Linked DNA regions of Homo sapiens: regions 2, 3, 4, 5, 6 and 7 are each linked to region 1. Evidence: promoter capture Hi-C in 16 types of primary human blood cells and fetal thymus (Javierre and others, 2016). All regions are on one chromosome and are shown on one strand. The core of a region is centred on a gene start or on the middle of the fragment in contact, and the rest is flanking DNA. Distances in the headings are between cores, read along the strand shown.

Region 1 (4,075 bases), core at 314-2,813:
TGTATTTTTATTAAAGATGGGGTTTTACCAAGTTGCCCAAGCTGGTCTCCAACTCCTGAGCTCAAGCAACCCACCTATCCCAGTGTCCCCAAGTGCTGAGATTACAGACATGAACCACCGTGCCCAGCCTTTGTTTTTGTTTTTTTTTTTTTTAACAATACTTTTAAAACATAAAGACACTTCTTAGCTTGAGGGCCATACAGAAAAAAGCCATTGTCCAGATTTGGCCATAGTCTGCCAACTTCTCCAGGAGTTCTTAGAAGATGAAGTGCATTGGCTACTTTAAATTTTCTTGCACAGCATTTCAAGAATGAGAAATAAGTGACTGTTGATTTCATTAGGAATCCAAATCATCATTTGATCATTTTTATCATCCAGGCATCCTGTCCAATCCCCTCCACCTCCCATAAATTGTAAACTTCATTTATTTCAACCTCAGTGTATTTGCCTATGTTTTCCTGAGTTCCTCTGAACCTCTATAATGTGAAGTCGCTCAATATCCAATCCAACCTTTTCACAGTCAATAGCCAGATATTCTTCTAAAATATTAGCGCTAAAACACACAAAAATACCCATATTGATGTATCCTGGCTGCTCATAGAAGAGAGTATTCCTGATGGTGCAGCTTGTTAAATGTGGGTGGAGATTCAGGGGGAGCAGTGAGAACATTTCGAAAACCTGACAGTGTCCTGGGCCACCTAAACAGTTTGTGCATTTGAGGATCACTGGGAGCTCTTGAATAATTTTCCACAAGTTTGAGTTTTCTCTAAACTGAATTATCTATATTATTTTTCTTCCCCTTTTTTAATGGATTTGCCCAGGAACTAAAAAGAGAAAACACTCTAATTAGAAAACATAACACATTTAAGTTTGAATGTGAATCTGAGTAGTTAGATCCTTAAGTCAAAGCGATTTGTATTACTGGTGCTGCAATGCAGAAGAAGTCACTCTGACTGTGGAACTCTTCCAAGCTGCAAAATCCCATTCTGTAAAGACATTAGCACATGGAAACTCCTAGGACACAGAACCAGTTTGTAAAGTCAAGTCTATGTGGTTAAGTTGGGGCTGTAGGCAACCAGCTGTCCTGTGCCTGTGTTACTTGCTACAGTTAGAAACAAACTTCATGCCCAAACCAAGGAACCCAGTGTCTTTTCTCTTGCAAAAATCAAAGCATGAACTCATGGGCAAATTTTTAAAAATAACTTTCACTGGATACTTAGTAGAAATTTATCGCGACACGCTACTAACTAACATGATGCCCTCAGCCCAATGGATTCTTATGAAAAGCTGAAGGGATTTTTTAAAATATCTTTCATCAATTGCACAAGATTCTTGAAAACACAAACAAGTATGTGAACCTGGAGGCTGTTTTCCTCCTTTGGAGCTTCAAAGTGCCAAATTCTGTACCATTGTTTTAAGCATTTAATCAAATTTTGAGGACTAACAAACACAATTTGGGAGTCCAACCGCGAGCGGCGGCGGCCAGAGGGCGGTGGATTGGACGCTCCACCAATCACAGGGCAGCGCCGGCTTATATAAGCCCGGGGCCCGAGCATAGCAGCAACGCAAAACCTGCTCTTTAGATTTCGAGCTTATTCTCTTCTAGCAGTTTCTTGCCACCATGTCGGAAACCGCTCCTGCCGAGACAGCCACCCCAGCGCCGGTGGAGAAATCCCCGGCTAAGAAGAAGGCAACTAAGAAGGCTGCCGGCGCCGGCGCTGCTAAGCGCAAAGCGACGGGGCCCCCAGTCTCAGAGCTGATCACCAAGGCTGTGGCTGCTTCTAAGGAGCGCAATGGCCTTTCTTTGGCAGCCCTTAAGAAGGCCTTAGCGGCCGGTGGCTACGACGTGGAGAAGAATAACAGCCGCATTAAGCTGGGCCTCAAGAGCTTGGTGAGCAAGGGCACCCTGGTGCAGACCAAGGGCACTGGTGCTTCTGGCTCCTTTAAACTCAACAAGAAGGCGGCCTCCGGGGAAGCCAAGCCCAAAGCCAAGAAGGCAGGCGCCGCTAAAGCTAAGAAGCCCGCGGGGGCCACGCCTAAGAAGGCCAAGAAGGCTGCAGGGGCGAAAAAGGCAGTGAAGAAGACTCCGAAGAAGGCGAAGAAGCCCGCGGCGGCTGGCGTCAAAAAGGTGGCGAAGAGCCCTAAGAAGGCCAAGGCCGCTGCCAAACCGAAAAAGGCAACCAAGAGTCCTGCCAAGCCCAAGGCAGTTAAGCCGAAGGCGGCAAAGCCCAAAGCCGCTAAGCCCAAAGCAGCAAAACCTAAAGCTGCAAAGGCCAAGAAGGCGGCTGCCAAAAAGAAGTAGGAAGCTGGCGTGTGAAAACCGCAACAAAGCCCCAAAGGCTCTTTTCAGAGCCACCCAGAGACCTCTAAAAAATGGCTGTGCACAACATGTTAGATCAGGCAGCAAGATTCCTTGCATTCGAAAAATCTCGGGCAGTTCTCCCTCAACCCTAATCGAGTAACGCAAGGCAAGCAAGAGTCCAGGGTGTTGGTTGGACTCCCCACGTAGTTTACCCATGCAGTCTGTTATTAGAGTATGAATTCCAGCCGTTGGTTTTTGTTAAGTTGGTGTCAAGCTTTTTGTCAGACGCCTAGCTACAAAGAAGCTTCTTATATTTTAAAAAGCCCGCTCTATAATCTGATTGGCCAGTTTTTGTTCCATCATCTGTATGTGGTTTTTCCGCGTTTAAGCCATTTAGGCACCAGCTACTTCGGCGTCACTAATGTGTTCGGCATTAATATAATATGCTATCAACGCACAAGACAATATAGTAGCAAGTTTCAAGATGGGGTCTCTATTACATGCCAATTTGATATGACCGTGTCATTCTGTACTGGATTATTTTTTTTTCCTCAAGTCAGGTTCTCGCTGTCACCCAGGCTGGCGTGCAGTGGCGTGGTCTCGGCTCACTACAGCCTCAGCCTCCCCGGCTCAAGGGATCGTCCCACTTCAGCCTCTGTGAAGTGCTAGGACTAAAGGCGTGCACCACCCCGGTCGGCTAATTTTTGTATCCGCTATGATGCCCAGGCAGATCTCGAATTCATGAGCTCCAGCGATCTTCCCGCCTCAGCTTCCAAAAGTGCTGGGATTACAGGCGTGAGCCACTGAGCCTGGCTCTGGATTTTTTTTTATTGGTTCTAGTTCATATAACACGAGATGAATAAACACAGCGAACATTCTTGTAAGCCCTACATTAAATAACTAGTTCACATTCTGACTTAAACATGTCACCTGAATCCTGTAAGGTTTTTCCTAAAAGTCATTCCTAAGCTCTAGATGAAAAATGCTTTATCTTTTCATAACAAACGTTCCAAATGTTTAACCAGTGGCCCAGCTCTCCCGCAGAAATAGTAGGTGGCTCTGAAAAGAGCCGTTGTATTGGAAAGTGATTCTATGGAGACATTATTTGCCTTTGGCCTTGTGGTGACTCTCGGTCTTCTTGGGCAGTAGCACAGCCTGGATGTTGGGCAGGACACCACCCTGAGCGATGGTTACTTTGCCCAGCAGCTTGTTGAGCTCCTCGTCGTTGCGGATGGCCAGCTGCAAGTGGCGCGGGATAATGCGGGTCTTCTTGTTGTCGCGGGCGGCGTTGCCCGCCAGCTCCAGGATCTCGGCAGTCAGGTACTCCAGCACCGCCGCCAGGTACACCGGCGCGCCGGCCCCGACCCGCTCAGCATAGTTGCCCTTGCGGAGCAGTCGGTGCACTCGGCCCACGGGGAACTGGAGACCGGCACGAGAAGAGCGGGTCTTGGCTTTGGCGCGAGCTTTGCCTCCCTGCTTGCCGCGTCCCGACATGACGAAGAAACGATAAATGGAGGAACTGAGAACAGCCGAGAGAAGTTCACCAGAGCTCCACTACTTATAGTCAATACTGGGCGCGAAAATAAAGCTGTGCCATTGGCTCAAATTACAGTTTTATTTCAACCAATGGAATCGCTGTTATGAAACATGCTTCTTTGGATTGGACAAACGTGTATATGACGTCATCTAGAATCGCCACCAGTCCTACACACTATTTTATTAATCACCTCATTTGCATAAGAATTCGTGAACAGGACGTTACAACACACAGCT
Region 2 (3,866 bases), core at 519-3,018, 1.8 Mb after region 1:
TAGGGAATGGGGAACTTTTGGGTTTACTTTCCATTTTTTCTTCATACATATGTAATATATAACATAAATCTATGGTATATATGATAAATATATGGCTACATATGAACTATATAATCACATATATGCATTATAAATAAATATTAATTTTATAATATTTTAAAGGTTATCAAATAAATATTAATATAAATAATTAAATAATTAATACTCAGCTTTGTTTTCCAAAGTGATAAATGCCTATATTTAGCAAAATATTTTTTGGAGGCCTGATAGTTTTTAGGAGTGTAAAGAAGTCCTGATATCTAAATGTTTAAGAACCACTATTTTAGGCTGTTGTCTTCTGTCTTATTTTCCCAGCTAGACTGGTAAATACTTGAAGGCAAACGTTTAGCCAGCACATTAACATTTTATGTTTTTATTCTTTTGTGCTCTCAGTGGCTGTGTCTTTTCTATCGATTTCTCACACTGTATGATGGTTATATTTGTCTGTATCTGTCCCACCAGGTATAAGTTCTTGAGAGGACACACTGCTAGGCTGATCTTAGTTTTTATTATTTCTCCTGGTGTCCTGTGCTTAACAAGTGCTCATTAAGTGTGTAAAAACACAGCACAGTAAAAAACTAGACATTAAAAAATAATGTCAACCAATCTATTGAAATTTGCATTTCCATGTTTCTTCCAATATAGTCATTGTGTCAGGTTATGTACTTATTCTGATGAAGACTATTGCCTAATATACGTTTGCATCTTGTGCTTTATAACTGCCTTCATATAGACACAGATTGAGAAGGTGTAAAAATGTGCATATCCTCACAATTGACAAATTCTTATCCTTTGAGGGTAGGTTTGACTTTCTGAAATGCTTTGACATCATTTGAAAGAAGCTTGAAGAATAAGATAGCTGTTAATGACCCAGTTTCCTATGTCACTTATACAATTATAATGGCAATTTCAAAATGTTAGGTAAATATATTTTGCAATATATTGTTCCTTTTGTAATACTCTCTATGTATTTATTTATATTTTTAAATTTTATATTTATGTATTTATTTTTCTGGACAGAGTCTTGCTCTGTTGCCCAGGTTAGAGTGAAGTGTTGTGATCATAGCTCTCTGCAACTTCAAACTGCTTGGCAAAAGTGATCCTCCTGCCTCAGCCTCATGAGTAGAGTAGCGGGAACTACAGGCGCATGCCACTGCACCCAGCTAATCACTATTTATTATGCTCCTACTGTGTGCTTTAGTATATTTTCTGTTGTTTTCTGCAACCCATTTTGAGGGCGTGTTAGGGAATACAGATGCAGTAACTTTCGTCTCAGCCCTTGAGGTGAGGAAATATTTAGCCTCAGGTTTAATCTAATTGTTGGCCATTTGCCTTCAAAGATTGAAATATGAGCAAAACTGTGGCTCTGGGTTATATGTTAAAAAAAAGTTTATGGGGCTGAAGCCAGGCAACAGACAAGAGCCCCTACAATCTTATTTAGGCTGAAAATATCCTGGAGTCCCTGTATTGTTGGTCTCAAGCAGATAGCAACACTAACACTTACTCTTTGAGGCAGGCACTGCCAGTGGGGTGGCTGTTATTATTAGCTTCATTAATTGGTGAGTCAGGAAAAAACAGCTTTAAATCATTCAAAGTTCTGGCCTATACAGGATTTAGTAATATTAGGTTAGCTACATCCAAAAGATGACAGAACCCTACTCTAAGGCTGGGCTTGGTGGTTCACACCTATAATCTCAAAACTTTGGGAGGCTGAGGCAGGAGGATCACTTGGTGCCAAGAGTTTGAGACCAGCCTGAGCAACATAGTGAGACCCCTGTCTCTATCAAAAACAAAGAACTCTAATTGGCATAGTAGAAGGAAAAAGTGAAAGAAAAACCAGCTGTCACCCTCATTCCTTACACCTGTCCTAACAACTCCTCTCACTATCCTTTGAATATATCTTGGCTGTTTGAGTCTCTCTCTAGCCCCATTACTGCTGTTTGGACTTGACATTTTGCTCTGCATTTTTAACTTTTCTACCAGGGTTTCCAGACCCTGAAGAGTGTGGCATGAAACAAAACTAGTCAACCTATAATATTTATGATGTGTGTGTAAATAAAAGAATACACAATATATTGCATTACAATATTTTAACTGTGTCCTCAATTTGTTTGTGGCTTTCTTGAGGACATCAGTTTTGGGTGGGACGACCACATCCTTAATCTGAACTTTCCCTTGGAGGTCATTCTTTTTTTTTTGAAATAGAGTCTCGCTCTGTCACCCAGGCTGGAGTGCAGTGGCGCAATCTCAGCTCACTGCAACGTCCGCCTCCTGGGTTCAAGTGATTCTCCTGCCTCAGCCTTCCAAGTAGCTGGGATTACAGATGCACGCCACCATGCCGAGCTAATTTTTGTATTTTTAGAAGAGACGGAATTTCACCATGTTGGTCAGGCTGGTCTTAAACTCCTGACCTCATGATCTGCCCACCTCAGCCTCCTAAAGTGCTGGGATTACAGGCGTGAGCCACCCCGCCCGGCCAGAGGTCATTCTAATAGACTTTTTTTTTGTTGTTGCTCACAGGCTTGTTCAATCTTATTTCAAAATTTGAGAAATACAGTTTCCATGGAACACCAACCAGATATCAGGTTGCTATGGAGTTGATAGTCAAAAGCTTTGTATCTTCCAGTTTTTCAGAATGGCTTCTAAAGGTTCTGATTCAGAGCTCTTAGGCGAAATTGAACAACCAAGTGTCAAAGTACAACATTCAGGAAGTTAAAAACATGACTGACATATATGTACTATATATAGTGAGCTTGTGTATGTGTCAATGAATGATTTAATTCATTAATGAAGGAGGAAGCAGAATCACAATTAGGTCAAAGGAAGATACGGGAGAATAAAATATGTATTTGGTCAGGGAAAGGATGTATACTGGAAGAGGAAGGGAAAATCAGATATAAAGTTGTTTAATGACTTATTAGGCAATACAATAATAACTTTTAGGGTCATTTTTTCTATATTAAGAATTCATTTCCATCTCTATGACAAAATCCTTATTAATTTATTAAACTTCTACAAGTGAATGTTTACTTTTAGATAGTCTGGACCCAATAAAATGTAAACATTAAGTCAGAGTTACTTTCACGTAGGACAGTGTTGTCCAATAAGGTACCACTAGCTACACGTGATCATTGACCATTTGGACTATAGCTAGACTGATTTAAAATGTTCTAAAAGTGTAAAATACACACCAGGTTCTGAAGATTTATCATTTAAAAAAGAATGTCAACTGTCTTTTTTTTTAGCTTATTTATTATATGTTGAAGTGATAATAGTTTAGATATATTAAGTTAAATAAAATATCTTAAAATTAATTTTACTTGTTTCTTTTCATTCTTTCAATGTGACCACTAGAAATCTGGAAAGTATTTATGTGATTCACATTCTATTTTACTGTCTAGTATTGCCTTACATCATCAGGTACCCCATAAGTAGGCTTTTTAGATAATTCTCTAATATAGCTTGGAAGGATATGGAGAAATATTTTTGCGTTGCTTTTAAGTTTTGCATAACTTTTTCAACACACTTTATAAAGGATCTAGAAAAGGGTTGGTTACATGTTTCTCTGTCTTCTGGCCTCCACCATGTTGCCAGGAGGTTGGGGACAAGATTCTGGGTGGCTGGATGTCCTAATGGCTTGAGGTCTGGACTTGAGATTTGCATATAAAGAGATGTGATTAGATTGAGTCGACTAGAAAAATCATATTAGAGAACTGAATCACAGCGATTAAATTTACATGTCGATTTATAAACCAGGACACCAATTTATAGTGAAAGAAGGTCCAGTTACCTGGTAATCAAGACGTTTCATAGCTATTTTCATGATG
Region 3 (3,816 bases), core at 219-2,718, 1.9 Mb after region 1:
TGCCCACCTTGGCCTCCCAAAGTGCTGGGATAATCACTTTTTATGCTGCATAATTCTTCAGATTTGTCAGTACGACTGTATTTACACTCATTTGTTTTATTAGAAAGAATTCCAGAATATTTTGGCTGCCCTAATTAATTTTACAATTAATATGATTTTGAAATTGGGTATTGGCTCCTTCTGAATTGGTTTATTAAAATATATTCTAATGTAATTTATGACATTTTCATCATATTAGCATATTTATTCTGTTAGAATTTCATAATTTATAAAGCTACAAACTGTATGTGATATAGCTTGTAACTTTATCTCATAACTTTATGCAGTTACAAGTAGAAATAAAATGTTCCCCTCAAGATTGCTTAAAATTTTATTATAAACAAGTGTAAAAAACAAAATCACTAAAACACTCCCTCTTTTTTCCCCCAAAATGCATGTTTCCATTTTAACAGAACCCGTATTTAATCAGCAGATTTCTATGGTGGCTAGATTTGTAGACTAAATATTAAAAGTCCCAAAGCAAATGCATTTTTCTCTTAAATTTTACTGACTTTTTTTTTTTTTCTTTTTCTGAGACGGAGTCTTGCTCTGTCGCCCAGGCTGGAATGCAGTGGCACAATCTCGGCTCACTGCAACCTCCGCCTCCCGGATTCACGCCATTCTCCTGCCTCAACCTCCCGAGTAGCTGGGACCACAGGCGCCCGCCACCACGCCCAGCTAATTTTTTGTATTTTTAGTAGAGACAGGGTTTCACCGTGTTAGCCGGGATGGTCTCGATCTCCTGACCTCATGATCTGCCCACCTCAGCCTCCCAAAGTGCTAGGATCACAGGCATGAGCCACCGCGCCCCGCCTACTGACTTTTATCCAAAGAAAATATAAGAGCTCTTCATCATAACGTATGTTTCTTGCTCTTGTTATTAAATATGACACATTTAGACTTAAACTGATTTGAAGGTTTATGACATTGTTTAAGTTATTACATAATTAATTCATAAAGATAATGACTAGTTTGAACTACTGACAGCTCACACATCATCAGTTGAACAGCAGAAAGCTTACTAAGCTACTTTCTTATGTTTCTGTCTCCCAGCTACTAAAAGAAACGAAACCCTTCCAGGTGTTAAGGCAAAACTTTCCTCCCCCTTTCTTCTATAAATCTGATTCCATGTTAGTGAAATTTCTACTGATGGCTTTGGTTTCCTCTATAGTAGAATAGAGATCCTATGGCAAAAGTCATGTCTGACATGGTAGCAAATAGAAATGGGGAAAAGGAAGGTCTGCAAGAGCCAATGTGGGAAATGGGGAGAGGACTGACTACAAAAACCCAGCAGGAATTCCAGAAGAAAACTCCTCAGGACGGGCACATTGGCTCATGCCTGTAATCCCAGTACTTTGGGAGGCCGAGGTGGGCAGATCACTTGAGTCCAGGAGTTTGAGACCAGCCTGGTCAACATGGCGAAACCTCATCTCTACAAAAAATAAAAAAATTTGTCAGGCGTGGTGGCATGCACCTGTAGTCCCAGCTACTCAAGAGACTTAAGTGGGAGAATCACTCGAGCCTTGGAGGTGGAGGTTGGTGAGCCGAGATCACGCCACTGCATTCCAGCCTGGGCGACAAAGTGAGACGCCATCTCAATCAATCAGTCTCCTCGAAAAGCAACATTATGGAGAGACAGGATTCCGTCAAGGCCTGGGGCACACAGGAAAATATTAAGGCAGAAGAGAGTTTCCTCCCCACACCACACCGTATCCCACAGGCACTGCGGATGTGCATATGCAAGAGGGGTTGATCCTAAGAATTTAGAGTCACAGAGGAGGAGGCACCAAGCAGACTGTGGAGAAAGTCATGACCAGAAAGGGACAGAATGTAAAGCTTCAGCTGATTATCTGGCCTCAGGGATTCCAGAGGAACTGGTCCCAATGGTCTCCTGGTGATGTAGGTTCTTAGGTTTCTTTTACAGGGGTTTTCTGGGAGATCGTTGACCCAGTTAGCATTCAAGCAACTTCCACCCTGCACTTTTATTCTTTCCCCTTCACCTGCTTAGGTTTTATCTGTCCAGGAAATAATAATAAAATTATTGAGCCCTGGACATGTACCTGTAAAGCTCCTTAAAGATGATGCCTTCTAACTCCTCATTCAACAGATACAAAAACATTACAATAAAATGACTCATGCAAGACACCCAGGTAGTTTATAGCAGCTAATAAAAACAGAATAACTATAAAATATGGTAAGTTTATAAAAGTTACATTGAGTATACTTTATAAGAACTGCTTATTGAGTTTGCCTAATAACCACACAGCACAATAATAATATGTATATATTTTTAAATATGTGTAAATATGTGTAACACAAACTTGTAGAAGGTATATCTGAGTACAACCCTATTCTGTTTGGTTACCTTTTCTAGTTCATTATGTAAGTGGCATAGCTACCTAAGGACTTATGCTTATAAATGTTACTCAAAAAAATACAGAGGACATATGTGGATAGATAATGGAAGAGATAAGATAGGTAGGTTGAAGGGTTGGGCTGCCCCTCCACACCTGTGGTTGTTTCTCGTTAGGTGGAATGAGAGACTTGGAAAAGAAAGAGACACAGAGACAAAGTATAGAGAAAGAAAAAAAGGGGTCCAGGGGACCGGTGTTCAGCATACGGAGGATCCCACCGGCCTCTGAGTTCCCTTAGTATTTATTGATCATTATTGGGTGTTTCTCGGAGAGGGGGATGTGGCAGGGTCAAAGGATAATAGTGGAGAGAAGGTCAGCAGGTAAACACGTGAACAAAGGTCTCTGCATCATAAACAAGGTAAAGAATTAAGTGCTGTGCTTTAGATATGCATACACATAAACATCTCAATGACTTGAAGAGCAGTATTGCTGCCAGCATGTCCCACCTCCAGCCCTAAGGCAGTTTTCCCCTATCTCAGTAGATGGAATATACAATCGGGTTTTACACTGAGACATTCCATTGCCCAGGGACGAGCAGGAGACAGATGCCTTCCTCTTGTCTCAACTGCAAAGAGGCGTTCCTTCCTCTTTTACTAATCCTCCTCAGCACAGACCCTTTACGGGTGTCGGGCTGGGGGACGGTCAGGTCTTTCCCTTCCCACGAGGCCACATTTCAGACTATCACATGGGGAGAAACCTTGGACAATACCTGGCTTTCCTAGGCAGAGGTCCCTGTGGCCTTCCTCAGTGTTTTGTGTCCCTGAGTACTTGAGATTAGGGAGTGGAGATGACTCTTAACGAGCATGCTGCCTTCAAGCATTTCTTTAACAAAGCACATCTTGCACAGCCCTTAATCCATTTAACCCTGAGTTGACACAGCATATGTCTCAGGGAGCACAGGGTTGGGGCTAGGGTTAGATTAACAGCATCTCAAGGCAGAAGAATTTTTCTTAGTACAGAACAAAATGGAGTCTCCTATGTCTACTTCTTTCTACACAGACACAGTAACAATGTGATCTCTCTCTCTTTTCCCCACAGGAGGTGATGGCCGGAAGAACATGGCAGAGGGCAAAACAAAACAGCATTGGGAACAAGCTCTGTTTAAAAGGAGACTTGTGAACAGCAAAGAGTAGAAAGGGTTCTCTTACAACTGAAGCCCATGGAAGACAAATGTGTACTGCGTGAGTTTTAAGGCAATAGGAGTAGTGGGACCTAGGGCACACCAGAGAGCATATTAACTCTCAAACTTTTAAAAACATTATATCTGCTGGACACAGTGGCTCACACCTTAATCCTACAACTTTGGGAGGCCGAGGCGGGCGGGTGTAGCTTGAGCCCAGGAGTTCGAGACCAACCTGGGCAA
Region 4 (4,182 bases), core at 506-3,005, 1.8 Mb after region 1:
CTTGCGCGGAGCTTTGCCGCCGGTAGACTTGCGAGCTGTTTGCTTCGTACGAGCCATTTGCAATGAGAGCACACACAAAAGTGTAGTGAACTGAGAGCAAGTGGCCTTTAAATATAGTGAGAAACATTCTGATTGGTCCTGTAATATTTCAAAAGTCCCGCGCGATAAAATCATTGGCTGAAGAGTGACCAGACTGATTGGTTCATTACTAGACAATCTTATTGGATGAGTTGCCCCACCGCCCATCCTGTCCTTTTCGTTTCAGTTATCTGCAGCGACAAATTGTCTAAAATTCTAGTTCATCCAGTCCCAAAGAACAGAGTGTATAACAAGGTATCTAAGGATTTTTAAAATGTAAATTCCGATTCAGTAAGTTTGAGTGGGACTTGAAATTCTGCATTCCTGACAGTCTCGCAAGTTATCAATGCTGGTGAACACTCACTAAACCACCAGAAACGTTCAGACTCATGTCGGGAAATAACGCTTATATTCAGAGAATGAGATTCCATGCTATTTTGTTACTGGCGAACAGCAAGTTTCCTTGCCCTTTGTTTTCTAAGTCCAAGTCACATTCCCACCCTGCCTGTTCTCAAAATGTCTTATTTTGGTTGGCCTTAAGTTTCACTTTGTATACTCTAAAATGTACTTTCTAAAGGAAGGTGTTATTTTCTCGAAACTTAACTTTTTAACACCATTAGGCTAGGGGGGCGGTGGCTCACGCCTGTAATCCCAGCATTTTGGGAGGGCGAGATGGGACGATCACTAGAGGCCAGGAGTTCAAGACAACCCTGGCTAAAATGGTGAAACCCCGTCTCGCATAAAAATACAAAAACTAGCTGGGCGCGGTAGCAGACGCCTGTAATCCCAAGTACACAGGAGGCTGAGGCATGAGAACCGCGTGAAGCGGCGGGGTGGAGGTTGCAGTAAGCCGATATCGCGCCGCTGCACTCCAGCCTGGGTGACAGAACTAGACTGTCTCAAAACAAACCAATCCAAACGAAAAGCAAAAAATACCCTAACAGAAGCAAGTTATCATCCTTTCTTGTGTAACTATGGACGGCTCTGAAAAATGCCGTTTCAAGTGTAAGCTACGTTTTCTGATTTGAGTGTTTACTTGACCTTGGCCTTATCGTGGCTCTGTTATTTTGGCAACAGGACGGCCTGAATATTGGACAGGACGCCTCCCTGAGCAATAGTGACGTTGCCCAGCTGCTTGTTGACCTCCTCGTCGTTTCGGATGGCCAGCTGCAGGTGGCGGGGGATGATGCTGCGGGTCTTGTCACGTATGGCGCTGCCCACCAGTTCTAAGATCTCGGCGGCCAGGTATTGTAAGTACACTGGCGCACCGGCTCCGACCGGCTCAAAATAATTGCCCTTTCGAAAAAGATGACGGACTCTGCCCTATTGGGAACTGCAAGCCCGGTAGCGACGAACAAGTTTTTGCTTTAGCTCCATTTTCCACGTCCGCAAATAGCGACCTATGAAAGCAGCGGAAAACTGTGAAAGACAAGCAAGCTGGAATGGCGCCTGAACAAATCCTTTTATACAAACTGCAAGGCTGCAATAGGAAGCTATCCTATTGGTCAATTATGTTTGGTGCTTTATCCAATAGAAAAAGATAACATAAATTCCATATTTGCATAAACCCCACCCCTCAGTGAAACCGTGTTTCTTTTGTCCAATCAGAAGTGAGGAATCTTAAACCGTCATTTGAATCTCAGGACTATAAATACATGGGCTCTGAACTGTTCTCTGTACTACTCTGTAGTGGAGAGTGTTAGTAGCTTTTCTATTCTGTTTAGGAATAGCAATGCCTGAACCCTCTAAGTCTGCTCCAGCCCCTAAAAAGGGTTCTAAGAAGGCTATCACTAAGGCGCAGAAGAAGGATGGTAAGAAGCGTAAGCGCAGCCGCAAGGAGAGCTATTCTATCTATGTGTACAAGGTTCTGAAGCAGGTCCACCCCGACACCGGCATCTCATCCAAGGCCATGGGGATCATGAATTCCTTCGTCAACGACATCTTCGAGCGCATCGCGGGCGAGGCTTCTCGCCTGGCTCACTACAATAAGCGCTCGACCATCACCTCCAGGGAGATTCAGACGGCTGTGCGCCTGCTGCTGCCTGGGGAGCTGGCTAAGCATGCTGTGTCCGAGGGCACTAAGGCAGTTACCAAGTACACTAGCTCTAAATAAGTGCTTATGTAAGCACTTCCAAACCCAAAGGCTCTTTTCAGAGCCACCTACTTTGTCACAAGGAGAGCTATAACCACAATTTCTTAAGGTGGTGCTGCTGCTATTCTGTTTCAGTTCTAGAGGATCAACTGGAATGTTAGCGAAGACAAGTTTTAGAGCCAAGGTTAACTTGGACGGGGCCGTGCGCGGTGCCTCTTGCCTTTAATCCCGGCAATTTGGGAGGCCGAGGCGGGCGGATCACGAGGTCAGGAGATGGAGACCATCCTGCTTAACACGATGAAACCCCGTCTCTACTAAAAATACAAAATAATTAGCTGGGCGTGATGGTGGGCGCCTGTAGTCCCAGCTACTCGGGAGGCTGAGGCAGGAGAATGGCGTGAACGCGGGAGGCGGAGCTTGCAGTGAGCCGAGATCGCGCCATGGCACTCCAGCCTGGGTGACAGAGCGAGACTCCGTCTCAAAAAAAAAAAAAAAAAAAAATTAAAAAAATATGAAGTTTTGAAGCAGAAATTATTTTGTCGTATGTTCTTTCATAAATTTTTTGCCTGCCTGCCTTCTTCCTTTGTTACAGAACTCCAACACTTACCCAAAGGTAGCTGTTGGGTCAGGGTTTCTGTACTATAGTCCCTTCTGTGGTGGCCAGAAATATGTTACAGGAAAGAGGTCCCCATCCAGACCCCAAGAGAGGGTTCTTGGATCCCGCGCAAGAAAGAGTTCAGGGTGAGTCCGCAGTGCAAAGTAAATGCAAGTTTACTAAGAAAGTAAAGTGGTGAAACGACAACTACTCCATAGACGGAGCAGGACATTCCCGAAAGTAAGAGGAGGAAGGCATCCACCCTAGGTACAATACTTGTATATATGGGGAGATGTGCTCTGCTACAAGTTTGTGATAAAGGATTAATTTTCTTAGTTACTATATTTTGCAAGAATCAACATTATTATCTTTAAACAAAATTAAGAATGCCTTTGTTCTCCAGATATAGGGATATCTGGACACTCCTAAGTCTGAGTCTGTTTAGTAAACATTATTTATTTGTTCCCTTAACCGTAAACATCTAGAAGCTAGGAATGACTGACTTTCTGGGAATGCAGCCCAGAAAGTCTCAGCCTCATTTTCCTAGCCCTCACTCAAAATGGAGTTACTCTGGTTCAAGTAACTCTGACACTTTTCTTCTCTTTTTTTCTTCTTTTTTCCTTCCTTTATTTTTTATTTTTTATTTTTGAAATAAGAAATCAAGAATACTTGATGTTTCATCTAAAACAATACCCATAATTGATAAGCCAAAACAAAAACCTAGGTCTTCTAACTCAAAACTAGGATGTTTTGCTGTCTCTGCTGATACTCGGCTGATCGTTAATAGGTAATTAACAAACAAGCCTTGCTATGTCCCCCTCAGTTTATTACCATTAGATCATATGCCTACTGTCAATCATATTAATCCACAACTATGCATTTCACAAAACTTGCCATAAAAATTCACAGGTTTCCCGCTTCCCTCGAGTTTTCATTTCCGAAGGGTCCCATGTAATATAAAACTTATATTAAATACATTTGTATGCTTTTCTCTTGCTAATCTTTTTTTTTGTTTTTTGAGACTGAGCCTTGCTCTGTCACCCAGGCTGGAGTGCAATGGCGCGATCTCGGCTCACTGCAACCTCCGCTTCCCAGGTTCAAGCGATTCTACTGCCTCGCCCTCCCGAGTAGCTGGGACCACAGATACGTGCCACCATGCCCCGCTAATTTTTGTATTTTTAGTAGAGACAGGGTTTCACCGTGTTGGCCAGGATGTTCTCAATCTCCTTACCTCGTGATCCGCCCGCCTCGTCCTGCCAAAGTGCTCGGATTACAGACGTGAGCCACTGCACCCGACCAATCTGTCTTTTTGTAGAGGGGCCTCAAGCATGAACTTACTGATGGGTGAGAAAAACAGAATTTTCTTTTCCCCTACAATATAAACATTAATTGTAATGTTATCATTCAGGACATTTTG
Region 5 (4,246 bases), core at 1,306-3,805, 1.9 Mb after region 1:
CACTGCCCACTGATGACTAAGCTCTTTGGACATAAAAGACACAGACCTTGAAGGAAAATGTGTCTACTTAATTTTGAAACCCTATTTATCAAAAAACAGGATGAAAATGCAAAATGCCATCCACATGCCAGAAGATATCAGCTATAATAAGTTCCCATAAATCAATAAGGAAAAGAACCCAATAAAAATTATTAAACCACAGTAAATCATGGGTAAATCACAGAGGCCTGAAGGGCTAATGGACATACAAAAAGAATCTCAATCTCACTAGTGAAATCAGAAAAGCACAAATTAAGTACACAATTAGGTACCATTTTAAATCTGTAAGACTGTCAAAATCATAAATTATATAAGTAAAGACTCAGGGAGTTTTGGAGGAGTGAGAGCTCTTATATTGCTTGTGGGGTAGAATTGGAACAATTTCAAGATCTGTAGTATCTGGTAAAATTATGATATGCATCCCTCACACCAGCATGTCACTCCAAGGTATCTCCCTGGAGGGAACATTTACGGGACACAAGGAAGCATGGATAAGAATGTTCACAGTAGTATTGTCTGCAACAGCAACAACAACAAAAAAACCCAACTACACACAACTTCAATGCCCAGTCCACAAGGCAATGGATTAAATAAACTTCAGGCCGGAGATGGTGGTTCATGCCTGTAATCCCAACACTTTAGAAGGCCGAGGCGAGAGGACTGCTTGAGCCCAGGAGTTCAAGACCAGCCTGAACAAAATAAAGAGATAGTGTTTCTACAAAAAATTTTTAAAAAATTAGCCAGACGTGGCAGTGCTTGCCTGTGGTCCCAGCTACTGGGGAAGCTGACGTGGGAGGATTGCTTAAGCCCAGGAATTTAAGGCTGCAGGGAGCCATGATGGGGCCATTGCACTCCAGCCTGGGTGACAGAGTGAGACCCTGTCTAAAAGAGATAAGTAAATAACAACTTTGCATTTTCTGCCACATTGCAAAATGGTGAGAGAGTGGTTTCTAGACTCTAGACTCTTTCTATGACTACCTTCTAGTTATGAGATCCTACAACACTCACCTAACCTCTCTGTGTCATATTTCCTCCTCTATAAAGCAAAAATGCCCCATATAGAGAGGACTGTGATATAAAACAAGAACCAAGAAAAGTAAAGCTTTTCTAATCTGTCACAGACTAAAGAGTGCTCAGTATATGTGAGTCATTATTCCTGGTGCTGGTAGGAGTGTATGTTACAACTTTGAGTCAAGTAATATGGTACCATATATTAAGATTAACAACAACCTCGGCAATCCCAGTTTGGGGTATGTTCCCAAAAGAAATGAAAGCACCAGGATATAAGGATGCATGGACTAGAAAGTTATTGTAGCAACATTGTAATAACTAAGTTCTAAAAACAGCCTGAAGCTCCATCAGTAGGGATATGGTTACATATATTTATTATATTCTTATGGAATATTAGACATAAAAAGTAACGAGTAACATAGAAGAGACAGTGTATATATGTTACGTTTGTACAAACTTAGGGAAAGATATAGATCACCCTACCTAGAGAAGTCAGATTGGAGACGGGTGGGAAAAACCTTGAACTTTCTCCTTATATCCTTTATATTGTTTGACTGATTAAAATGTATTTGTTGCATCTGCTTGAAGGCAATGTAAAATAAAATAAACATACATTTAAAAATAAAAATAAAATTTATTCCTATCACTTTTGTAATAAAGCTGGGCACAGTGACTAACACTTGTAATCCTAGCACTTTGGGAGGCAGAGACAGGCAGATCACCTGAGGTCAGGGGTTTGAGACCAGCCTGGCCAACATTGTGAAACCCCATCTCTACTAAAAATACAAAAATCAGCCAGGCATAGTGGTGCGTACCTGTAATCCCACGCTACCCGGGAGGCTGAGGCGCTGGAACCCAGGAGGCAGAGGCTGCAGTGAGCTGAGATTGCGGCACTGCAAGCCAGCCTGGGTAACAGCGAGACTCCATCTCAAAAAAAAATTTGAAAAAAGAAAAATTTTAATAAACAGTGTTTAAGAGGGGAGAAATATTTAGTTAAAAGATAAGCCCATTTAAGAAATAGTTTCACTTGACCCGGAAGGCGGAGCTTGCAGTGAGCCGAGATCGCACCACTGCACTCCAGCCTGGGCGACAGAGCGAGACTCTGTCTCAAAAAAAAAAAAAAAGAAAGAAAGAAAGAAAGAAATAGTTTCACTTGAACCATATTATGATTCCTTCTGTAAAAGATGAGAGTAGGCAAATTGACTCAGTGAAATCCCAGCAAAACTTACACAAAGTCTTGTTCTTCCTTCCTGTCATCTGTATAGGATGAAATACAGAGTGCTTTTGGGTTTTGTTGTTGTTTGTTGTTGTGTATTTGAGGGGAACACAGGTCTATAATTCCTTTTCTGAAATCCCTGGAACAAAATGGGCTTTGCCATTCAAATTAGTTTAGAAGTTATAAAGGCAAAAAAATGCATATACTCTAAAGTTCAACCCCATCATGGCCTAAGGCAGAGCCCTGTAATCAAATTCATCAATATATCTGCAGCAAAACATTTATTCAAATTAAGTGGGATAAATAAAGACTTTTAAATAGTCTCATCTCAGTGCCGTTCAGGGTTGGCCACTGTGGAAGACAGACTCAAGGGTGGCCTTCTATGATTCCTGCCTCTTGGTGTTCACACCCTCGTAAAATTCCTTGTCTTTGAGTGTGAGCAGGGCTTATGAATTGCTTCTGACCAATAGGATATGGCAAAGATGATGGGATATAATTTCTATGATTACGTTTCATTATGTAAGACTCCATCTTGCTGGCAGATTTTCTCTAAAGAGTCTGTCTCCTGAGCTCTCTCTGAAGAAATAACTGGCCATGTTAGAAGCCCATGTGCAAAGAGCTGAGGGGTGGCCTGTAGAAGCTGTGGGCAACCTCCAGCCAACAGCCAGAAATAACCAGGGCCAAAGTCCTGCAACCATCAGGAAAGAAATTCTGCCTGCTACCTCAGTGAGCTTGGAAGTGGATTCTTCCTTAGCCTAGCCTCCAGATAAGAACACAGCCTGACCAACACCTTAACTGCAGCCTTATCAGACCCTAAGCAGCAGGCCCAACTAAGCTGTGCCCAGATTCCTGAACCACAAAAATTGAGATAACATATCAGTGTTGTATTAAGGTTCTAAATTATGGTAATTTGTTTGTACTAATAGATAACTAATATAACCACCAAATCATTTCAGGTTAGGCCAGATTTTTGTAGCCAAATGAATCATGATAAAACTTTCCATTTTCAGGGGTTTTTTTGATTTTGTACTTACGGATACAAATTTGTGAAAGTATAGTCAGCACTGATTTAAAAAATCAAGGGAGCAGGAAACTCAGTAAATGGTTCTAACATTTTGGAATCTGTAAATTGGTTGTAACATTTGTCATCTGTGTTATCTAAGTCAAGTTCCTAAAATATGTGAATGATAGGTTATCATACTCACCTACTTTTCTTGCATTGCTCTAAGAGTTGGCTGAGCTATTGATAATAAACACTATGATCAGATCTAATACCATGATGTGCTATTATGATCATGTGTCAGTCACAGGGCTAAGCACTTTGTACATGTTGATGCATTTAATTTTGATGATAACTCAATGAAGTAGGAGCTGTTAATATTTTCATTTTTCAGAGGGGGAAACCAAGTCACTTGGAGTAACATGGCTAATAAGTGAAAGAATAAGAATTTGAAAGGTTTGCACAGATAACCAGAATGCAATGCTCATCACATTCACTGAGCAGTGAATCATACTAACTAGAGAAAGTATGAAAGCTCTACTGAAATTAACTAAACAACCTCTCTGGCTGTGAGCCTGCCAAGGGACAGGTGGTAAACTTGGTTACTGCATAAGGCCCCTTCTATCCACAGTATTCAGGAATTCTTTAGTGAACATACCTTGATGACTCCTTAACATTTTCTTCACATCGAAGTAAAGCTTGGAAACATTGCACATAGTATGAAGTTCCAAGGAGACAGCCTCTGATGTTTCCAGCTTCACAGCCCAACTCCTAGAATAAGCAGAGGCGAGAGATTTCTTCAGAGGTGCATTCCATTCATTTCTATATACGCACACCCCTCCCCTCCTGCATTCAAACAGGACTTACCTGCTCAAAGTGTCATTCACATTCTATAAAGAAACAAAAAGAAAAGGTGAGCATGGGAACATCGGTATTTCATGGGGCTTGTCATGCAGGGCTATTCTTCTTTGCTTTACCCG
Region 6 (3,944 bases), core at 1,431-3,930, 1.9 Mb after region 1:
AGCAGAAGGCAAGGAGGAGCAAGTCAGGTCTTACATGGATGGCAGCAGGCAAAGAGCTTGTGCAGGGAAATTCCTTTCTATAAAACCATCAGGTCTCATGAAACTTATTGACTATCATGAGAACAGCAGTATAAATTACTCAGGGAAAGACCTGCCCCCATGATTCAATTACCTCCCACCAGGTCCCTCCCACAATATGTGGGAATTTAAGATGAGAGTTAGGTGGGGACACAGCCAAACCATATCAGTATCCTTAGTCCAGAAGCTGATGCTCTGCCTGTAGAGTAGCCGTTCTTTTATTCCTTTACTTTCTTGCTTTCACTTTACTGTGTAGACTTGCCCCAAATTCTTTCTCACACGAGATCTAAGAACCTTCTCTTAGGGTCTGGGTTGGGACCCCCTTTCTGGTAACACTATCAAAGGATCAGGAAAAGGAAGCTAGTGAATGCTAAAAAGGAAACAAACTACCATTACCAATAATAACAGCAAGACAAAAGCAAAACGGATTGTGACAGCTGTCCCATCTCACACCTGTTTCCCATTGCAGGAAGGAGGGGCTGGTTCATGCACAGAGTGGCCAATATTAGAAGCAGAGATGGGGTGCAGATGAGACTTCAGGAATATGTTGACAAAGGCAGGCCTAGGGAGAAATCAACCTGAACTATCCCCAAGGAGGAATGCATTATCTCTAATATGTAAAGTTAGGCTTGATCCTGTGATTATGGGATATAGGAGTCCAAAGACTCACAATGGGAAGTAGGTCACTAGAGTCTCCTTCAGAAGCTCTGTACTGTGTGTTCCCACTGTGGGCAAGAGTCAGCACTCAGCTATTCCTAGAATGCCTTTCCTCAACTCCTTCAGATTTTGCCTCTCAACTAACCCTATCCTGACCACTTGTTAGCAAGTGTACCCCTCTCTCCCTCCCAAACATTTTCAAATCTATTTTGTTCCCATGGCACTTATCACTGAATATTTTACTAATTTATTTTGTTTAGTGTTTGCTTCCCTCATGAGAATGCAAAGGGATGGATTTTTTTCAATATTGTTCACTGATGAATCCCAGTAACTAGAATATTTCTAAGCATAGTGATGTGCATTAAATCAAAGAGTAACTTTCTGAATTGCACTAAACACACATCACAAGAGGTGTGTGCACATATGTGCATGATGCACGTAGTGTGGTGTGGGTGTTGTGTGGGGTATGTGGTACTGTGTGTGCTGTGTGTGGTATGTGATACATAGTTTGTGTTAGTGTGATGCATGTGATGTGGTATGTGTGTGCGTGTCCATACATATTAGGGGTGGCGGGGATGTTAATATGTCAAATGGTACTAGAAAGTATCAGAACTCATGGTGCTTACTGGTTTCCCAGAGAGCTGCTTCTCTCCCACCTGTAGGATATACTGATGGTTTGGACAGAGAAGAAATAAAAAGAAGGCTGTGACCTACTGGGCTGAGGAAATAAAAACGAAAGTAAAAGAAGAGCTGGGAAAAGAGAGTGGAGGGGCCAAGGGAAATTTCCCCTTTGGCTTCTGGGGAAACTTTGCTGAAAAATCAACTCACAAATTTATTAACATGTACACAGGGAGAACCATAGAATGATTATCCACTTCCCAAGAGGGCTTAAAAGCTTATATATTATCCTGGCAAAACAGATTATGGGAGGGGAAGAAGAGAAACTCTGTTGATGGGATTACTGTTGCGGATTTTTGCTCCTTCGCTCAGCTAGGTCCGGGTTTTTGTCTCACAGCCAGGAAGAATTAGGCATGCAGCCATCAAAGAATGAGTGGAGTAGAATTTATTAAGTGAAAGGAAAGCTCTCAGCAAAGACAAGGGTCCTGAAAGCAGATTTCTGGTTTGCTCTTCACAGTTGAATACTAGGGCTTAAGACTCAAATTCCTGACAACTCCACCCTGTCCTACCAGTGCATGCAGGCCTTTAGACTGAGCTACTCCATATTGATTAATTTCCTGAACTGTGCATGTGTTAAGGAAAGGAATCATCCACTGCAGGCATGTTTAGGCAAGCCCCCTGTGCAAGTTCCCTTATCTGCACAAAACATCCGGTGTAAGCACTTGTGGGGCAGGTCAGAGGTTCTCTGGGTACCATTCCCTTACTGTCTGCCTAAAGCAAGCTGGCCAACTCCTTTCATTACTAGGGAGAGTAAGTAGATCAGGGAACAGAGATTAACTTGAACATTATCTTGTGAAAGTCCGTTCGGGCATGGTTACATTCTTGGTCTTACAGGAAGGGTAAATAAAAATAATTGCTCTTTTTGGTGGGTCTGGATCTTAGGTAGATAAAGAAACTTTAATTCCACGATGTGTTTTGGTAGGGATAGTTGGTGGCAGGGATGTCAGAGAGACTTTGAGGCTTCTTCAGTTCAATATGACCAAGGGCCATATATTAGGGTATCAATTTCTGAGCCCCAACAAGAGCTTAGGAGAGATGTGATAGCATCACAGTGTGAAAGCAATTTTTTGTTTGTTTTTAGAGACAGGCTCTTGCACTGTCACCCTGGCTGAAGTACAATGGTACGATCACAGCTCACTGTAATCTTGAACTGGGTTCAAATGATCCTCCCATCTAAGCATTTCAAAGTGTTGGGATTACAGGCATGAGCCACGGTACCCAGCCTGAAACTGCACCCACTTTCTGATAAACTTTTCAAATGACTAAAGGGGAGAGAGTAAGCACTACTCAGAGGTAGGAAGAAAGGACACAGGATTATAGGATTAAAACAACAACCACCAAAAAAAACCAGACCGGTGTGGTGGCTCACACCTGTAATCACAGCACTTGGGGAGGCTGAGGTGGGGGGAGTCACTGGAGGCCAGGAGTTCGAGACGAGCCTGGCCAACATAGCAAGATGCTGTCTCTATTAAAAAAAAAAAATACCTGCCTTGAGCTAATCAGAATCATGGACCCTGACAAAGGATGTCCCAAAGTAAGTCTTAGCATTTTTTTTTTTTTTTTGAGACAGTCTCGCTGTGTTGCCCAGGCTGAAGTTCAGTGGCGTGATCTCGGCTCACTGCAACAGCTGCCTCCCAGGCTCAAGCAATTCTCCCTGCCTTCAGCCTCCCAAGTAGCTGGGATTACAGATGCCCACCACCACGCCTGGCTAATTTTTGTTTTTTTTAATAGAGATGGGGTTTTGCCATGTTAACCAGGCAGGTCTTGAACTCCTGACCTCAAGTGATCTGCCCACCTTGGCCCCTCCATAGTGCTGGGATTACAGGCGTGAGTCACTGCACCCGGCAAAGTCTTAGCATTCTTTACAAACAGTTTGTACCCGTATCTCTAAAAGGGAGTAGTGAATTTCACCCCAAAATGTGGCTTCCTGATATAATGAGTATTTTGAATGAAAAACTCTTAGAGATCAACAGACACTAAAGAGACTTTTCCCTAGGTACATAAAAATAGGATGGCCCCACCAGCGAGAACAATTGTTCTTTTCTCCCTCTCTGTTATCTCATTGTGCATTATAGGAAAGACCAAGAATGTAACCACACCTGAACAGACCCTTTTATAAGATAATCAGTCTCTAAGCATCATTTAAATTCCAAGGAGAACTATTTACAAATTTATCTGTTCTTTGATCCAATTAGTCTCTCCTGGTAGTTACATATTGCCCCTCAACAGAATTCCTCTTCTTCTGTTTCCCATAACCTATTTTGCAAGGATCAAGCCCCTGTTATTTCTTCAACTTCAAGGTGGCATATAAGCTTCTAAATTCCACTGGGATATTGGTACTATGTGCATGAGGAGAACCACAGAGTAATTAAATTGTAAAGCCTTTTATCTTATGAATCTGCCTTTTTTTGTGTTCATTTTTCAGCAAAACTTCCAAGGGCAAAGGTATAAAACAAAAATAAAATTCTAAAGCCCCCCAACCATCTGAATAGACTTTCTCTTCAGTCAGGCTTCTTAAAATGTAACCTGAA
Region 7 (3,927 bases), core at 618-3,117, 1.8 Mb after region 1:
CTCAGCTTTTTAGTTTTAAAAACGAGTTGTGCGTTATTTGTACGAGAGCCTAAGATGCTAGCTGCCTGGAACTGAGTAGGTGGATTAAAATGGGTGTCAGGTCTGTTTTCCCAGGCGTATCTGACTTAACGTCAGCAAAAGCTGTACTTTTAGCTTCCCTGGTAACACCTGCCGTCCTTAACCGCCCCCTGCCGGTAGCGCCAGAAGCCTTTACTTCCATTTCTAGTTGAGCTTGGCGTCCTGCTGAGTGACGTCACCTCCCCCTTCTCTGGAGTAGGACTGGCGGTTAAAGCTGCTTTGCTATTTTCAGTCCTCAGGCTGGAGGCTCCCCTAAGCAGGCTGCCTACGCAGTTCGTAAATTCCCACTTAGTAGACTAAGGGAGTCTGTTTTATAAATAAGGACTCAAATTTCTTCTGACTCCGAGGTCCGTGGCAGCAGCTATAAGATGGAAGCCCCCTCTGATGTAAGATTCTCAGATGACTTGCATCTTCACTGTACCTGTCAACCCAATAGTCTTCTATTCCTGCCTTAAATTGTAAATTCCAAAACTGATTTAATTGTGAAAGTTTCAAACTGTACGACCTAGGAAGTGTCAAAGTTAGGTGACCAGATTTTTAGAAGTCAGCCAAATATTCAGCATCTTTGATTTAGTAACAAATATATTGATGGCTACTTCAGCAAAAAAAATCAACTTTGTTTTCTGGTTACTTTGCTAACAAGCTTCTCCTGACAGGAGGATATAGTGAATAGGCAGTTGAATAAGTGAGTTCGGGTGAGAGGTCTGAGCTGGAGATAAAAATGTGTGAGTCATCAGCAGATAAATAAATGCTGAGACCAGATGAGATGGCTAAAAACTGAAACATAATGTAGTGCAGCATTGTTTGTAATAGTAAATGAGTGGCAACTGTAAAGTTTTCATCAGAAAGGACTAGAGTGATCTATACATCCATAAAATAGAGTATTTCTCTACACAGCCCTACTAAAGAATGAGAAAGCTGTACTCCACTACATACTCTGGTGTACTCTGGCTCAGTTCTTGGACTCCTCTTTTCTTGGCTAACTCAACTGGCCTCACCACTTACATGCTCTGTGCTCTGTCAAATAGTTTGTTCAACAGAACACCACGGCCTAGCTGTAAGTGCCACGTTAACTTCTAGCAATGCCAAAGCCTGTGATAGTGGCAGCTTCGGGCTGTTTCTCATTCCCGGGATGCCTAACCACCTCTCCAAATTCTATCAGTTTGCTTCCACCCACTTCAAGCTTCAGAACGAAACATAGAGCTTAAGAAATATAGGCCCGGCAAGGTGGCTCACGCCTGTAATCCCGGCACTTTGGAAAGCTGAGCCTGGTGGATCACCTGGGGTCAGGGGTTCGAGACCAGCCTGGCCAATATTGTGAAACCCCGTCTCTACTAAAAAAAAAAAAAAAATTAGCTGGGCATGGTTGCGGGCGACTGTAATCCAAGCTACTCGGGAGGGTGAGACAGGAGAATAGCTTGAACTCGGGAGGCAGAAGTTGCAGTGAGTTGAGATCGCGCTATTACACTTAGGCCTGGGAGACAAGAGTGAAACTGTGTCTCTAAATAAGTGTTTGCAATTATAAACCATCTCCCTGACCTTAAATCTCTAGACTCATATACAACTGCATATTTGATGTATCTAATTGAATAATGGGCATCTCGAACTTGTCCAAAATATGTTTATACGTAAACACCAAGTCTGTTCTTCCTCTGATATTTGTCATGTCAATCAATAGAACTCCATTCTTCAAGCAGCTTGGGCCAGGAATTGTGCAATATTGTTTGTCCTGAGCTTCTTACAACTTTCACCCAATGCAGTCAGCTCTGTTGAAAATCAATCAGAATACCTTTCATTGTTTTCTTTGCTGCTTCTCTAGGAGCAAGCTGCCATGGCGGTTTGTCTGAATGACCACAGTGACCCCAAACTGGTCTTTGTTTTCACTTTTAATCCCCCTGTCATACAGTTTTTTCTCTATCCAGCATCAACAGTGATCCTTTTTGAAGGTATTATGTCCACTGTCTGCTGAAAAGATTCCACTGGCTTTCCATCACCTTCATAATAAAAACCAGCATCCTTATCATAGCCTACAAGTAAGATGACCAACCATTACAGTTTGCCTGACTCTCAGGGGTTTCTCAGGGTGTAAGACTTACAGTGCTGAAACTTAGAAAGTTCCAAGCAAACTAGGATGAGCTGCTCAACCTACTAGATCTGTACTCTGGCTACCCTCTGACCTCATTCTCTTCGCAGTTCTTTCTCTTCACTGACCTTGCTGTTTCTGGAATGGACCAAGCATTTCCAGCATCAGCACCTTTATATCTATTCTTTCTCCCTAGAAGGGTCTTGTCCTGGATATCTGAATGGCTCTAGATCTCATTTCATTCAAGCCTCTCCTCAAATACCAACCTTACGAAAGAGACCTCCCATAATCATCCCTTGTAAAATAAGCTTTTCTGCTCATTTAGCATATATATATATAGTTGACTATCCTCAATAGCATATATATATAACATTTCCCCACCTAGAATTATATATGTAATAATATATTTAACAAAAAATACATATAACTAGATATATTTTATTTTGTGTTTGTTCTCTCTCCCCCAACTGGAATATATTTTTTGAAGGTAGGGACTTTGTTTTGTCCCAGAAGTATCCCTAGCACCTTGAACAGGGCTGACGTTTAACAGGTAGTTTATGGAGGTTTGTTGAATGAAAGGATGTGTGAATTTTCTATGTAAGTCTCCAGGCTCTCCACTAAGCCCACCAGAATGCTAACACAATCAATTCCCCATCTCATTCCTTGACCTGCCACTGCCTGAAGCAATCAGCGTGCAGTTTCTCTTTAGAAAATCTGGGGGATAGTCTAGGGGTTGCAAATTAAGCAACATTATCTTTGTTCTGAACAAGGACTGCATGAGTGTTAGGACTGAAGAAGGCCCAAGGTGGTGGTGGGTATGCCTAAGATGAGTATGACATATCAGCAATGCTATGAACATAGCAATGCTATGAAAGGCCAGGCAAAACGTAACAGGAGCTAGTCGTGGCTTATTGTTACAACGACTATACCTCCCATATGGGTAATCGATATCCACACACCCCTCTACATTGACTCTGGAATTCAGGAAAGGGAATTAAAATTTTCTAACTTATGTACCCCAATGATTTCAACAATATCTGGCATATGAGATCAATAAATATCTTTAAAATACCAACTAAGAAAGACATAAAATGACCCACCCTCCATACCAGGCTCATTTTTGCTCCTCTGATTCCTGAAACTATCCAGAATGCAGCTATGAATTCTCTCCATTGTCAGTTTTAAATTAAGCCAAGCTGGGTACTTGTGTAATTCCTCAAGAAATCCTGGATGAAAACTGTCAGGTGGAAAACAGGACCTCAAAATAAAGAGACATCCATCACTGAAGCTAACATCGTGAGGCTGAAATCAGTCCTATAACAATGGTACCAAAAAGAGCACAATGAGAGGCATTTGTGAATATTTACTCAGATGAGAGTAAGATATTTCCCTATCAGCTAACCTGAAGTTCACATCCCTTTTCCAGCTGAGTTCTGAAGCTAGATGTACTTAACTGGAACACATAACTGCATCAGGAACATCCTTTAAAACTATGGCTACCATGGCTTGACTGGACAAACCCCAGGCTTCCAGGTTTAGCACAGGTGGCCCTTCACAGACCAACATTGCCTATGCTACCAACCTCATGTCCTACCACCCTGCTTGCATCATTTCTCTCTCTGCATATATAAAAATATATGTGTATGTATATAATCAGCTTTATTGATATTTAATGTACCACAAAATTTGCCCACTTTAGGTACAGTTCAATGAATTTTACCGTGTTTTCTTAGTTGTACAACCATCATCACAATTTAATTTCGGAA

Evidence for each region. Contacts are between HindIII fragments. The CHiCAGO score rates a contact against its expected background, and 5 or more counts as called.
Region 2: a contact is called between a fragment that was not itself captured here and the fragment with the promoter of H1-5 in region 1, in 5 of 17 cell types (erythroblasts, fetal thymus, M0 macrophages and 2 more). The highest score is 9.7, in erythroblasts.
Region 3: a contact is called between a fragment that was not itself captured here and the fragment with the promoter of H1-5 in region 1, in 3 of 17 cell types (monocytes, non-activated CD4 T cells and M0 macrophages). The highest score is 6.5, in monocytes.
Region 4: the fragment with the promoter of H2BC3 here is called in contact with the fragment with the promoter of H1-5 in region 1 in 17 of 17 cell types (non-activated CD4 T cells, erythroblasts, naive B cells and 14 more); the score reaches 73.1 in non-activated CD4 T cells.
Region 5: a fragment that was not itself captured here is called in contact with the fragment with the promoter of H1-5 in region 1 in 2 of 17 cell types (monocytes and M0 macrophages); the score reaches 6.4 in monocytes.
Region 6: a contact is called between a fragment that was not itself captured here and the fragment with the promoter of H1-5 in region 1, in 1 of 17 cell types (non-activated CD4 T cells). The highest score is 6.7, in non-activated CD4 T cells.
Region 7: a fragment that was not itself captured here is called in contact with the fragment with the promoter of H1-5 in region 1 in 17 of 17 cell types (erythroblasts, fetal thymus, non-activated CD4 T cells and 14 more); the score reaches 48.7 in erythroblasts.

The regions. Positions count from the first base shown.
Region 1 is chr6:27,865,076-27,869,150 of GRCh38, reverse strand. H1-5 (H1.5 linker histone, cluster member) reads left to right here and starts at 1,563. Exons shown (of 1, transcript NM_005322.3): 1 at 1,563-2,359. The coding sequence starts at 1,622. The coding sequence ends at 2,302. It overlaps H2AC16 (H2A clustered histone 16), which reads right to left and starts at 3,834. Exons shown (of 1, transcript NM_003511.3): 1 at 3,353-3,834. The coding sequence starts at 3,796. The coding sequence ends at 3,404. RefSeq lists enhancers at 1,304-1,373, 1,634-1,743, 3,314-3,363, 3,654-3,743, 3,295-3,816 and 1 more. The HindIII fragment of the contact is 3,270 bases long and covers 1-2,578 here.
Region 2 is chr6:26,058,983-26,062,848 of GRCh38, reverse strand. No RefSeq gene overlaps it. Among named protein-coding and RNA genes, the nearest start is that of H1-2, 4.4 kb to the right of the region's middle. The HindIII fragment of the contact is 1,769 bases long and covers 884-2,652 here.
Region 3 is chr6:25,998,905-26,002,720 of GRCh38, reverse strand. LINC02980 (long intergenic non-protein coding RNA 2980) reads right to left here. Exons shown (of 3, transcript NR_186645.1): 3 at 946-1,471. Among named protein-coding and RNA genes, the nearest start is that of LINC02980, 8.1 kb to the right of the region's middle. RefSeq lists enhancers at 2,568-3,203, 3,204-3,816. The HindIII fragment of the contact is 819 bases long and covers 1,059-1,877 here.
Region 4 is chr6:26,041,286-26,045,467 of GRCh38, reverse strand. H2BC3 (H2B clustered histone 3) reads left to right here and starts at 1,755. Exons shown (of 1, transcript NM_021062.3): 1 at 1,755-2,241. The coding sequence starts at 1,811. The coding sequence ends at 2,191. It overlaps H3C3 (H3 clustered histone 3), which reads right to left and starts at 84. Exons shown (of 1, transcript NM_003531.3): 1 at 1-84. The coding sequence starts at 57. It also overlaps the pseudogene H2AC5P. RefSeq lists enhancers at 1-41, 1,272-1,511. The HindIII fragment of the contact is 16,277 bases long and covers 1-4,182 here.
Region 5 is chr6:25,972,964-25,977,209 of GRCh38, reverse strand. It overlaps TRIM38 (tripartite motif containing 38), which reads right to left. Exons shown (of 8, transcript NM_006355.5): 6 at 4,134-4,156; 7 at 3,925-4,037. Among named protein-coding and RNA genes, the nearest start is that of TRIM38, 12 kb to the right of the region's middle. The HindIII fragment of the contact is 2,823 bases long and covers 1,144-3,966 here.
Region 6 is chr6:25,956,934-25,960,877 of GRCh38, reverse strand. No RefSeq gene overlaps it. Among named protein-coding and RNA genes, the nearest start is that of TRIM38, 3.9 kb to the left of the region's middle. RefSeq lists a cis regulatory region at 1,904-2,208. The HindIII fragment of the contact is 2,095 bases long and covers 1,633-3,727 here.
Region 7 is chr6:26,022,713-26,026,639 of GRCh38, reverse strand. No RefSeq gene overlaps it. Among named protein-coding and RNA genes, the nearest start is that of H4C2, 2.6 kb to the left of the region's middle. RefSeq lists an enhancer at 685-979. The HindIII fragment of the contact is 1,208 bases long and covers 1,264-2,471 here.